Linked DNA regions of Homo sapiens: region 2 is linked to region 1. Evidence: promoter capture Hi-C in 16 types of primary human blood cells and fetal thymus (Javierre and others, 2016). All regions are on one chromosome and are shown on one strand. Each heading gives the region's core, a stretch centred on a gene start or on the middle of the fragment in contact. The rest is flanking DNA. Distances are from core to core; before and after follow the strand shown. Region 1 holds the start of RNF38 (ring finger protein 38). Region 2 holds the start of GRHPR (glyoxylate and hydroxypyruvate reductase).

Region 1 (6,193 bases), core at 1,675-4,174:
TAAAGCTTCTTTAAAAAAAAAAATCGAGAGCCTGGTTCTGGAAAACTGAGGTCCAAACACTGGGTAGAACTGACCCTCTGAGATGTTACTACCCTTTGAGATCCAAGACAAAATTTCTAAGTCATTCATCTCTAAGCTTCAACAGTTCTCATACACAAATGACACATGAAAAAGACTGAAAGGAATAAAAAAAAAATCATTCTCTCACTACACAACGGTCACAATTTGCTTTATATATGTGTGTGTGTGTGTATATACGTATATACGTATATACACATGTATATATACGTATATATATGTGTGTGTGTATATATATATATATATGTTTTGTTTTTTTTTTTTTGAGACAGAGCTTTGCTCTTGTTGCCCAGGGTGGAGTGCAGTGGCGCAATCCTGACTCGCACAATCCTGACTCACTGCAGTCTTCACCTCCTGGGTTCAAGCAATTCTCCTGCTTCAGCCTCCAGAGTAGCGGATTACAGGTGCTGGTCACCACACCCGACTAATTTTTTTATTTTTAGTAGAGACAGGATTTCATCATATTATTCAGGCTGGTTTCAAACTCCTGACCTCAGGTGATCCACCAACCTCGGCCTCCCAAAGTGCTGGGATTACAGGCGTGAGCTAAAAAATAATTTAAAAATAATTTTGAAAAGCTAATAGGCAGTATTAGGAGAAACCATTCAAGGACTGGTACTATGTGGGTGAGGATGTTCATTACTGCCCAGCACCGGACAATCATTTCTAAACAGAAATTATGGTTCCCACTCTTGAGTTAGGCAAACAAACAGGACCCATCTCTTTCTGAGAGCACAGCAGAAATAGGGTGTGTGAAAACAGCCTAAGGCTCCCCTACTTCCTTTCCCCAGTCCACAATCCCATAAGGTGATGAAAAAGAAGGAAAAGGGAAAAGAAAACAGATGCAACGAAAGAAATCCTCTATCCATTACACAGAGAATGCAGAAATAAAGGGTAGGAAAAATAAGAGTTACATATTTTAAATAAACTTTTCTTTCCTTCCCTTCCAAAATCTAAATTTGCCTACACAAAGATTTTTCTCCCCTCAAAGAAGTATGTCTAAAATCGTTTTACTTAGGTTGGTTACCACAAAGAATTACACAGATGTGAAAAAATATCTAGACCACAAAAGTCCAAACCAATAAAAAATTTTATACACTCTCTCCCTCTCCCTCTCTCCAAACACACACACGGCGCACACACATATAATTACTTACACAATAATTGTGGGTTTTACAATAGTTGGAAAAAAGAGGTATGATTGAGTTATAATTTTATTAAATAACAATCATAATTCAAATAATTATTGCTTGCCTGCCATATGCTGGATGCTGTGACTACAAAATGGGAAAAAGAAACAGTCCTTACCCTTAAAGCAACTCAGTCTAGTGAGGGACAATTAATAACAGGAACTACAAGAAGATAATAGGGCTCCATAACCTAGATAGAAGAGGTGAAAAGTTCAGATCCTTAACAAAGGGAAAGATCTAAGGCAGGCAGGCTCCATGGCAAACACCTGTAGTCCTAGTTACTCAGGAGGCCAAGAAAGGAGGATCACCTGGGCCCAGAAGTTCGAGTCCAGAAGGGACAACATAGCAAAACCCGTTTCTGGAAAAACTAAAATTAAAAAAAAATTTTTTTAATGAAAGATGTAAGAGTTGGGAAGAGACTGTGTACATGACCCCTCTTCTTCATCTGTTTATTCTAAATTTCTCTCATTAATTTACTATATAGAGTTCAAGTATTAATGCTTTATCTCCTCTAGATAACGTCGTATTAATTAACGTTTGCTGATGAACTAGACAAGAACTATACTGTTCAAATCCATGTTTACAATCTGTTCGCTCTTTCCAGAGAAAAGGCTGTGAGTTAAGTAGAGTAAAATGGAAGTGAAAACTGTCTGACATGTTTTCTTAGCAGGAAAACCAAAACAAACACAACGCAACAATCAAGACTAATTAAGAACTACCTTTCCAGCAAGATGAATTACAAAATGGTGGTGGCCTAAACCAAACTAGAGGTAGTACAGAGAAATAGGTGGAATAAACTAGAAGACATAATCTTGACCAATAATCTTTCCATACTGAGCAAGTACCTAATCATTTCAGAAACTTTTATCATAAGAATTTCTCACCCACACTTTCCACTCACAGCCTCAAAAAAAGAAAGTGAGCACAAACAGAAACAGCCTAGGAATGTAACATGAATTAAAAGCCTCATCCAATGCTGTTGGCAGAGAGACAACAGATCTACACTCTACATTATGATGCTAACAGTCAGTTATGTCTGACTATGCCATCTTGTTTACTCTTCATCAAAAATTAGGTTATTTTAGTAGAGAAAATTCTCCTCAATATTCACCCAGAGTAATACTTGACAATTTAACTATAAAAACAAGATGGGCATATAAAGCCCAACAAGTATGGAAATACGAACTACCTTCTAGAATCACAGACGAAGTCAGAGGTGGAAAACCCACAGATTATTTAAGTCCAACTTTTTTTATATTTTACAGATGAGAGCCTGAGGCCCACATGACGAGTCTGTGGCAGAACTTATTCAACTATAGGCGCTAAGGCCTTCAAATCTCTTAGAAATAAGTCTTACAGAAATATCATAAAAATCAACTTAAAATTGAATGAACAATGTATGATTAGCAGGTTTGCAAAAGGTGAAATATACCATATTATAAATATATATAATATATTATATAATACCATATTATAAATAAATATATTATAAATATATATTTATAAACCCCAGAGAAAGGAGTATCTGAAGTGACACAATTCCCAGGTAAACTTCCAGTCAGAAATTTCATCTTTTTATTCCAAGTGTGTCCCAGCTTCCCACACCTGATCTGACATCTATATGTATGTGGTTTCGTATTATCTCTACAAAAGTTCTATTTCTTCCATTAGACGGTGTTCCCTGAAGATAGGAACAATTTTACTTCGATTCCAACTGTCCCTATAAAAGGGAATTTTTTTTAAAGCCTACATACAAGGTTTGTTTGCTATTGAAAAAAATTTACGGTAAATTTTCAAGTATAACAACACTCGCAATCAAGGCCAAACAGAATACAGCAGACTTGCAACTCTAAGGTAACAACTGTATTATGAGCTTTGTATACATTTAAGTTTTCATACGTTAAGTCCACCGCTTAAGAAAAAAGAAATGGCAATTCATATAATGGTGGCAATAATTACATGTGTGTGTTTCTACTTACGGTAGAATTAGCATACCCAACTTTTACTGAATAATAGCATATATCATTTTTGCAACACAAAGAAAAATACTTTACCTTACAAGCCATACAGACGTAAACAAAAACTTTATTTCTTTTTGGACCTCAATAACCTGAAACACTCCCGTTTCAAAAACCAACCTCTCTCACGCTTCAACCCTGAAAGGAAGAACTTGCATCCCCTGAGAACAAAACGCAGCCTATCCAGAAACCCACGGAAGCAGAAGGACGCCAGAGAGGACCCTTTCGACCGGGTTCCGCGTTCTCCTGGGTGACATCATTTCACCTGCGTCTCGGCAAAAAGGGAGGGAGCGAGAGAGCGAGGCCATCTGCCGGGCAGCGGGCCGGCGGCTCCGCGAGCTGAGACCGCGCCTCCTCGCCACCGCGGGAACAAAGAGCGCCGGGCGGCCGAGGCAAACCTTAGCCCAAGACTCGGGCGCGGCCCCGCAGGCTCTCAACGGCCCGCAGCCCGTCCCGCCCTCGCGCTGCAGCCAACGGCCGCGGCGGCCAGTACCTGCGAGGGGAGGCTCCGCCCTGCCGGGCAGCTCCCGCGGATCCTCGCTGGGCCGCCGCCTCCTATTGTGACTGCTCGCCCAGCCCGCGGCCAGCTCGCCAGATCCGCCGTCCGCGGGCCTCCTCACCCCCGGAACCCCGGCTCCAACTTAGGCACTGTCACTGCGCTTCCTTCCTCCCGGCACCATCACACGGGCCGCGCCAGGAAACGACGGCTGCACGCCCAGAGATGACAGAGTCGCCTAACGCCTCGGAGGCTCCATCCTCTCCGCCCCCACGCCCCAACCGACCGGGCCTCGGCCCCGTCCCGCAACACCGCACTAGGGGCCCGGCCCGGCCACGCCCCTCCCCGCCCCGCCGCGCCCCGCCGCACCCCGCCTCACCCCGCCTCGGCGATCACAGACCCGGGCTCCCTATGCGCCGGCGCACTGGCCTCCGCTGCGCGCGCAGGCGACTCCCCTCGCCGCTAGGCCGCGACACGCGCGGTCCTCCCACTTCTTGGGTCCGGGTCGCCCGTCCCACCCCGTCCCCTCGCCAGCACAAACCTAGCGAGCCCAGCGCGCCAGACCACCGGAGCGCTCCTCCCTTTTCCCCCAGGCTCCGCACCGCGCGCCGAACCCCCTTTGTTTCCACCCCGAGGGGGAAGGGGGCGGGGCGGGGCGGGGCGGGGCTGCGCGCGGCCCGGCGCACGACTCGGACCAGTTCCGGCAACAGAGCTCCGCGCGCAGCACCACTGCGCAGCCCCGCCCCAGCCCGCCCCCCGCTGCCCTGCGGACCGCAGGGCCCTGTTCCAATTCCTATAGATTTTCTCTTAGTAAATTGTTGCTACTGTTCCGTGCCTCCTACCTACAAAACTCCGCAATCAAACAGTAACTGACCTCACGTAGTTCTTACAGCATAAATGCATTCACGTGGCCCGAAAAGTAAGAATTTTTATTGCAGTACACAAAGGTGTCTCTCAATGCAGCAAGCCAACAGGTTCGAACCCAACTTGTCCGAGGCTTCCTTAAGTGTGACAGTTGCTCAGATGTCGCTTGGGGAGGGGAAATAAGAACAAAGATTGAAGCCGGCTTGGCTCCTGTCCTGATAATCACGATACAAGAGAGAAAATAAAAATTTCCACAAAAGCACAATCCATACAAGGAAAAAATAGTAAAGTGGTATCAGACTTAAGGAGAGAGGGCAGTCAAGAGGACATCATGGAAGGGGTGGACTTTTTAAAGCAGAAATTAGATGTTTCCCGCAAGGATGGTGATCATATTTTAGGGTGGTAGAGTAAAATTATTAAGGACCAGTCAACAGAAAACTCGGGTTTTCAAGTTCTAGTTCTTTTGGCATTACTTAAACCAGTCTCTCTTTCCCTCTCTGGGCCTCAGCTGCAACCAGTAGAAAATGGGGGAAATCAGAGTAAATGTTGTTTCAGGACCTTCTGGACCTTGGACATTCTCTTTATGAACAACACTATATGGTAATTATTTATGTACACTTGTCTCCCATATCAGACTGAGCACCCAGACTCTGTTGGGACTGTGTAAACTAAACCCAAGGCCCAAGTCTAGTGCCAGAAACACAAGAGAAGGTGTTTAGCAACTGCTGAATCAAAGTTCCAGCAATAACATCATAGGTTTTGGAATTCCAGGACAAACAAAGAGAAGCTGGAAAGAGGTATTAGGTCCCTATGAACATATCCACCCCAAACCCATACTCGAATTATGTAACCCAGTTAACCAGCTGGCTGGCTCTCTCCCAAAGCAGCCAGTTTGGAGATGATCACATCTAAACTTGTTTTTTTTGTTTGTTTGTTTCACTTCAAGGTAAAGTGCCAACCATACCTTTAAGTTTATCCAATGTATCCTATTTTCTATCCTCTGTATCCCTCACAAATCGCAATCTACTGTGGATTCGCCTTCCAATTACAGATCTTCCACCAGAATCTAAGCTTAAAAAAAAAAAAAAAAATCCTCCCTACAGAACGCAGACCACCCTGAAGTAGCTTTTCCTCCAAGCTTGGATAGGACTATGTGAAGAGAGGGGAAAGGGGAGAAGAACATCAGGAAAGGAAAGGGAAGTTACATTTGGGAGCTATCTAACTGTAAGAGAGGCAGATTCCTCAAGTGCTGAACTCAGCAGCAAAAATCTATTACAGTCCTCCAGCATTCCTCACCTCTAAGCTTCAGCAAATCCCTCTGAGCTTCAGCCAACCTTTTGTGAGGCAAGCTTCCTGAAACCTCTCAAATGGTTACGATCTTCAACAATGCTGTCACAACCCCAGGTTGGATAGTTTTAAATTTCTTCTTCTTTTTTTATTTTTTTTGTATTTTGAGACACGGTGCTCTGTCGCCCAGGCTGGAGTGCAATGGCTGGATCACATCTCACTGCAGTCTCAAACTCCTGGGCTCAGGCAATCCAGGCTAA
Region 2 (6,193 bases), core at 2,745-5,244, 1.0 Mb after region 1:
GGGAGCTCTTAGTTAGTTCCAGACACTGCCCTGAGCACTGGACATGGTCACTCACTAACGTTTCCATGTTTCAGTATCTGTGGGGTGCATATGTTGCTCTCCCCAGTCTACAGACAGGAAGCTGCAGGCAAGAAAGATGAAGTCATTTGCTTAAGTCACACCATTACCAAGAGGCCGAGCTTGGATTCACACCCAGCACCCTGGCTCCAGACCCAAGCTCTCAACCACAATACAAGCCTGTGGAGTGGGAGGGGTGAAATACATGAGTGAGGGGTGACTTCTAGGTATTGGCTTGGGGTGGCTGTCCCTTTGATGGATATGTGGGAGGAGCGCAGGTGTCAGGTGAGGTATTGGGGAGAAGGTGGATGAATTGGGTTTGGCAGGTGTTGAGTTCCAGATACCTGAGGATGCTCAGGTGGAGGAGGCAGGAGAGAGGCGGCTTATGGCTCTGAAGCTGGGTGATGGGGGCTGGAGCTGCTCACTCCAGAGTCATCAGCGTAGAAGCGCAGCCTGGGAGACACCTGAGCGATGAAGGGGCAAGGCCACAGCTAAGGCAGGGGAATTGATATTTAGTGTGCAAGGATTCAAAATGACAGCAAGAAAAGAAGTGTTTTAGAGACTATTACTATTATTATTATTGAGACAGAGTCTTACTCTGTTGCCCAGGCTGGAGTGCAGGGGTGCAATCATAGCTTACTGTAACCTTGAACTCCTGGGCTGAAGTGATACTCCGGCCTCCGCCTTCCGGGACTCAGCCACCACAACCAGCTAACTTTTAAATTTTTCTGTAAAGACAGGGTGGGGGAGCCTCCCTATATTGCCCATGCTGGTCTTGAACTCCTGACCTCAAGCAGTCCTCCAGCTTTAGCCTCCCAAAGTGCTGGGATTACAGGAATCAGCCACCAAACCTGGCCAAATGCTATTTTTATTTATTTTATTTTATTTATTTATTTTTGAGACGGAGTTTTTTTGTTTGTTTGTCTTTTGTTTTCTTTTGAGACAGAGTCTCGCTCTGTCGCCCAGGCTGGAGTAAAGTGGCGTGATCTTGGCTCACTGCAACCTCCACCCCCTGGGTTCAAGCAATTTCCTGCCTCAGCCTCCTGAGTAGTTTGGATTATGGGCACCTGCCACCAAGCCTGGCTAATTTTTTTGTATTTTTAGTAGAGACGGGGCTTTACCATGTTGGCCAGGCTGGTCTCGAACTCCTAAGCTCAGGTGATCCACCCGCCTCAGCCTCCCAAAGTGCTGGGATTACAGGCGTGAGCCACCGCGCCTGGCCAAGTGCTATTTTTAAATGAATGTTTTCTTTATTTTGAGGGTAGATAATAAATGCACAAGATGCAAATTCCCAAAGGGTGAAAATTGTGTCTCTCTTACTCTGTCCCAGTTCACCAGGTCTTCTCCCCAGAGGCAGCCACTGTCCCCAGTTTCTTCTTTTTTCTTTTTCTTTTTTTTTTTTTTTTTTTGTTAGAGACAGGGTCTCACTCACTCTGTTGCCCAGGCTGGAGTGCAGTGGCACAATCACAGTTCACTGCAGCCCCAGCCTCCCAGGCTCAAGCAATCTTCCTACTTCAGTTTCCCAAGTAACTGGGACTACAGGTGTACACCACTACGCCTGGGTAATTAAAAAAAAATTTTTTTTTGTAGAGACAGGGTCTCGCTATGTTGCCCAGGCTTGTCTCAAACTCCTGGGCTCAAGCAATGCTCCTGACTCAGCCTCCCAAAGTGCTGGAATTACAAACCATGAGCCACTGCACCTGGCCTGTTCCCAAAGAAACAAGAAAGATGTTTCTTGTACATCTTTCCAGGGATATTTAACACACAGAAATAGGTGGCCAGGTGTCGTGGCTCACGCCTGTAATCCCAGAACTTTGGAAGTGGATCGCTTTGAGCCCAGGTGTTCGAGACAAGCCCGGTCAACATAATGAAACCCTGTCTCTACAAAAAATACAAAACATTAGCTGGGTGTGGTGGCACATGCCTGTGGTCCCAGCTGCTCAGGAGGCTGAGGCGGGAGGATCATTGGAGCACAGGAGGTAGAGGTTGCAGTGAGCCAAGATTGCACCATTGCCCTCCAGCCTAGATAACAGACTGAGATCCTGTCTCAAAAAAAAAAAAAAAAAAAAAAAAAAAAGAATAGGCATATACTTTCTCCTATAAATGGTAACATATGCACTTTGCATCACCCTGTTTTCTCACTGGACAGTACATCTTGGAGATCATTCCACACTGGTACGCACAGAGCTGCCTCACTCTTTTGATTGATGCAGAGTATTTCACTGTGGGAATGAAGCATACGTAATGAACAGTCCCCTATGAGTGGACCTTTAGGTTGTTTCCCATATTTTACTATTCCAACAATGCCACAATGAAGAGCCTTTGGCAGATGGCATTTTGCACATGTGTGAACGCGTCTGTAAGGTAAATTCCTAAAAGCAAAATTTCTGGGTCAAAAAAGATGTGCAGTCTAAACTTTGATAGCTACTGCCAAACTTTCTTATTGAAGTTGCTGATTTACACTCCTACCAGCAACGTATGAAAGCACCTGGTTCCCCAATGTATTATTTTTTACATTGGTATCTTGCTGTAATTTTAATATGCAGTTCTTTTGTGAGTCAAGTTGAGCACTTTTCATCTTTTGTTTTTTTTTTTTGTTTGTTTTGTTTTTTTTTGTTTTAGATGGAGTCTCACTCTGTCACCCAGGCTGGAGTGTAGTGATGGGATCTCGGCTCACTGCAACCTCCATCTCCTGGACTCATGAGCAATTCTCCTGCCTCAGCCTCCTGAGTAGCTGGAATTACAGGCATGTGCCACCATGCCCACCTAATGTTTGTATATTCAGTACAGACAGAGTTTCACCATGTTGGCCAGGCTGGTCTCAAACTTCTGACCTCAAGTGATCCGCCTGCCTCGGCCTCCGAAAGTGCTGGGATTACAGGCATGAGCCACCGCGCCCAGCCATACATTTAAAGGCCATTTTCTTTTCTATAAACTGTCCATTGATATCCTTTGCTTATTCAGATAAGCTGGGCATCTTTGTCTTAGGAACTATTTGTGCAATAAGTAAATCAACCCCTTGTCTATAAAATGAGTTGCAAATATATGGTATTTTTCCCGGTTTGTTGTCTTATGATTTTGTTAATTTTTTTTTTTTAAGATAAACATAAGCCTGGTATTTCCAGGCACCTGGTATTTCCAGGCAGTCTCCCATACAAGCCCTAACCAGGCTTAGTTTCCAAGATCAGATGCATTCAGGATGGTACGGTTAATTTTTCAATGGAGAATTAGTTGTACTCTTATGGCTTCTGGCTTTCGCACACATAGCGTATCACTTATTTATTGCTGCATAAAGAATTACTCCAAAATTGAACGGCTTAGAGCAACAGCAGTCAGTGCATTATCATCTCTTATGGTTCCGGGGTTGACTGGGCTCAGCCAGTGATTCTCCTAAAGGCTCTTTCTTGCAGTTTTAGCTGTAGTCAGGTGGGAGTTGGCCTGGAGTCACCCGAAGGCTTCCTCACTCATACCTCTGGTCATTGACGGTGGCTGTGAGCCGGGCCCCTGGCTGTGCTGTTGGCCTGAACACCTACACGTGACCTCTCTGTGTGTCCTGGACTTCCTCACAGCCTGGAACCTGGGTTTCTACCCTGGGCCAACCCAAGAGACAGAAAAAGTGGGGGCTTTCAGTCTCTTAAGGCCTGAGCCTGTGGAAACAGGACCCTGAGCGTGTAGAAAAAGCAGGGCTCCCATGAGGCCTTGGACGGGATACTGCCCCCTCTCCCCCGGGGCCCTGATTCCCCAGTGGCACGAGGCGCACCCCCCCACACACACACAAGGACACTGTGTAGGGTCACTGTTACTGTCACTCCCCGAGCACGCACAGTCACCGCTCAGCCGCAACCCGGCGCTCCCTCTCGCGAAGCCACACCCCCTGCGCACGCCGCGCGCGACGTCTCTCCCGCCCACTCCAGCCTGGCCCCGCCCCGGCCCAGCTACATTCCCGGGCCAGCTTCTGTACTGCCAGGTCCGGGTCGGCGGCTGCACTGCGGATGAGACCGGTGCGACTCATGAAGGTGTTCGTCACCCGCAGGATACCCGCCGAGGGTAGGGTCGCGCTCGCCCGGGCGGCAGAGTAAGAGCCTCGCGCGCCGTGGAGGAGGGAGCAGGGCGGTCCCAGGGACCGGAGAGCCGGGCGGGGCGTTTGGGCCTTGTGGCCGGCTGGGGCAGGCTTGGAGTTTTGGGGAGTCTCGGAGAAAGTTCTCTGGGGCCCAGTTCTCCTCTTAAGACGACGCTGGGACCTGCAGTTCCGGCTTTGGAGAGGGGAGATTGCCCCTGAGGCAAGGTCCAGGCTAATTCTCCACGCTCCCACAGGACATGTGGGGTCAGGGACATGGCGGTCACTGACCAGGCCCTTGGACGTTTGGCAGGGGGCTTTGATGACTCTTCTTCTTTATATTTACTTATCTTTTTTTTTTTTTTTTTGAGACAGTCTCACTCTGCTGCACAGGCTGGAGTGCAGTGGCTCGATCGATCGTGGCTTACTGCAGCCTCGACTTCTTGGGCCCAATCAGTTCTCCCACCTGAGCCTCCCGAGTAGCTGGGACTACAGGCGCAAACAATCACTACCGGCTAATTTTCTGATTTTTTTTTTGTAGAGATGGGGGTCTCACTCTGTTGCTCAGGCTGGTCTCAAATTCCTGGGCTCAAGCAATCCTCTTGCCTCAGCCTCCCAAAGTGTTGGGATTACAGGTGTTAGTCACCATGACTGGCCTGAGGACCCTTTAATTTTTAAGACAGGGTCTCACTCTCATCCAGGCTGGAGTGCAGTGGCACCATTATACCTCACTGCAGCCTCAACCTCCTGGACTCAAGAGATACTTCCACCTCAGCCTCCCAAGTAGCTGGGACTACTACAGGCATGCACTACCATGCCTGGCTAATTTTTTATTTTTTTCAAAGACGAGGGTCTCACTGTGTTGCCCAGGCTGGTCCTGAACTCCTGTACGAAGGGATCCTCCCACCTCAGCCTCCCAAAGTGCTGGGATTACAGGCATGAACCACTGCACCTGGCCCACCCTTGCTAAATGGAACCCTTTTTGTGGGCCAACCTTGCCAGGTGCTTCATATACATAAACTTTTAATCCTGGTAGCACTGTGAAGTCAGTATTATAATTCCCATTGCACAGATTAAAAACTGGAGGCTGGACTTAGGGTTAAGTTTCTTCCCAAAGCCATGCAGCTCCCAGGTGGAGGAGCTGGGGCTTGTACTCAGAAGTGTCTGACTGCTGTCTGATCACTGCATTTGATCAGGTTTGTGTTTCCAATGTTAGATAGGAAGAGGATGCAATCCAGCCTCAGCAGCCAGTTCTAGGGGCATATGAGATTTTCAAATTTTGTTCACTGCAACAAAACCTTTGCCAAGGACCCACTTTGTACTGAGCAGGAGAAGGTGGAAGGCAGCAACCGCGCCCATGGTAACAGTAGCTCACGCTGTACCCTGCTCATGGGGAGGTGGATGAAAGGTGGTCAGTGCCCTGGGCTCAGTCAGGAGGTGCAAGTAGCTATCCTGTGTCCTGCCACATAGAGGCTCCACACGTGCTGACTGTACTGAATTCCATGGCAAGGGCCAGGAGGCACCGTGCATCACTGGGACAAATATCTGGTTGCTGTGAGCTGCCGTGGAAGCGTTGGGTGGCCTTGACCTTATCTTTCCTGGCCCAGTCCAACTATGAGAGTTTTCTATTTCATGGACTCCACGGACAGGAAGAGATGCAACAGGCCATTGAATCCAGGCCCCCCACCTGAGGCACACCCTGCCCCCCACGGGCCTTCCCTGCAGTTGGCCGCCTGCTTGGCCGCCCAGCCCCTGTGAATGTGGGAAAGCTCTTCTCTGTGCTGACCTGAGAGCTGTCCCCATGCCTTCCCCCTTGCAGCTTAGGCTCTGCTGGGGGGCCCCTCAGCCCTTCACCTGTCACCTGCTGTCTCGGGACAGTTCTGAGACCACCCCTGCCTGACCCTGCCTCCCCTCAGCCAGCCCCGGGCAGCCTGAGGCCAGGGCCATCAGAGGCCAGGATTCCCAGCTGGGAGGGGCGGGGACAGGTGTGCGGCTCCTGCTTCTCCTGAGGGCCTCCCTTTCCCCGCAGCTGTGAGGTGGAGCAGTGGGACTCGGATGAGCCCATCCCTGCCAAGGAGC

Evidence for each region. Contacts are between HindIII fragments. The CHiCAGO score rates a contact against its expected background, and 5 or more counts as called.
Region 2: the fragment with the promoter of GRHPR here is called in contact with a fragment that was not itself captured in region 1 in 1 of 17 cell types (neutrophils); the score reaches 5.7 in neutrophils.

Annotation. Positions count from the first base shown.
Region 1 is chr9:36,396,775-36,402,967 of GRCh38, forward strand. It overlaps RNF38 (ring finger protein 38), which reads right to left and starts at 3,495. Exons shown (of 12, transcript NM_022781.5): 1 at 3,323-3,495. The coding sequence starts at 3,334. It overlaps LOC124902152 (a long non-coding RNA gene), which reads right to left. Exons shown (of 2, transcript XR_007061475.1): 1 at 5,120-6,193; 2 at 4,691-4,811. RefSeq lists an enhancer at 3,455-3,524 and silencers at 3,735-4,064, 4,095-4,554. The HindIII fragment of the contact is 5,581 bases long and covers 135-5,715 here.
Region 2 is chr9:37,418,702-37,424,894 of GRCh38, forward strand. GRHPR (glyoxylate and hydroxypyruvate reductase) reads left to right here and starts at 3,995. Exons shown (of 9, transcript NM_012203.2): 1 at 3,995-4,132; 2 at 6,144-6,193. The coding sequence starts at 4,050. LOC105376035 (a long non-coding RNA gene) reads left to right here. Exons shown (of 4, transcript XR_007061479.1): 4 at 1-807. RefSeq lists enhancers at 3,341-3,966, 3,967-4,592 and a silencer at 3,807-3,956. The HindIII fragment of the contact is 7,938 bases long and covers 1-6,193 here.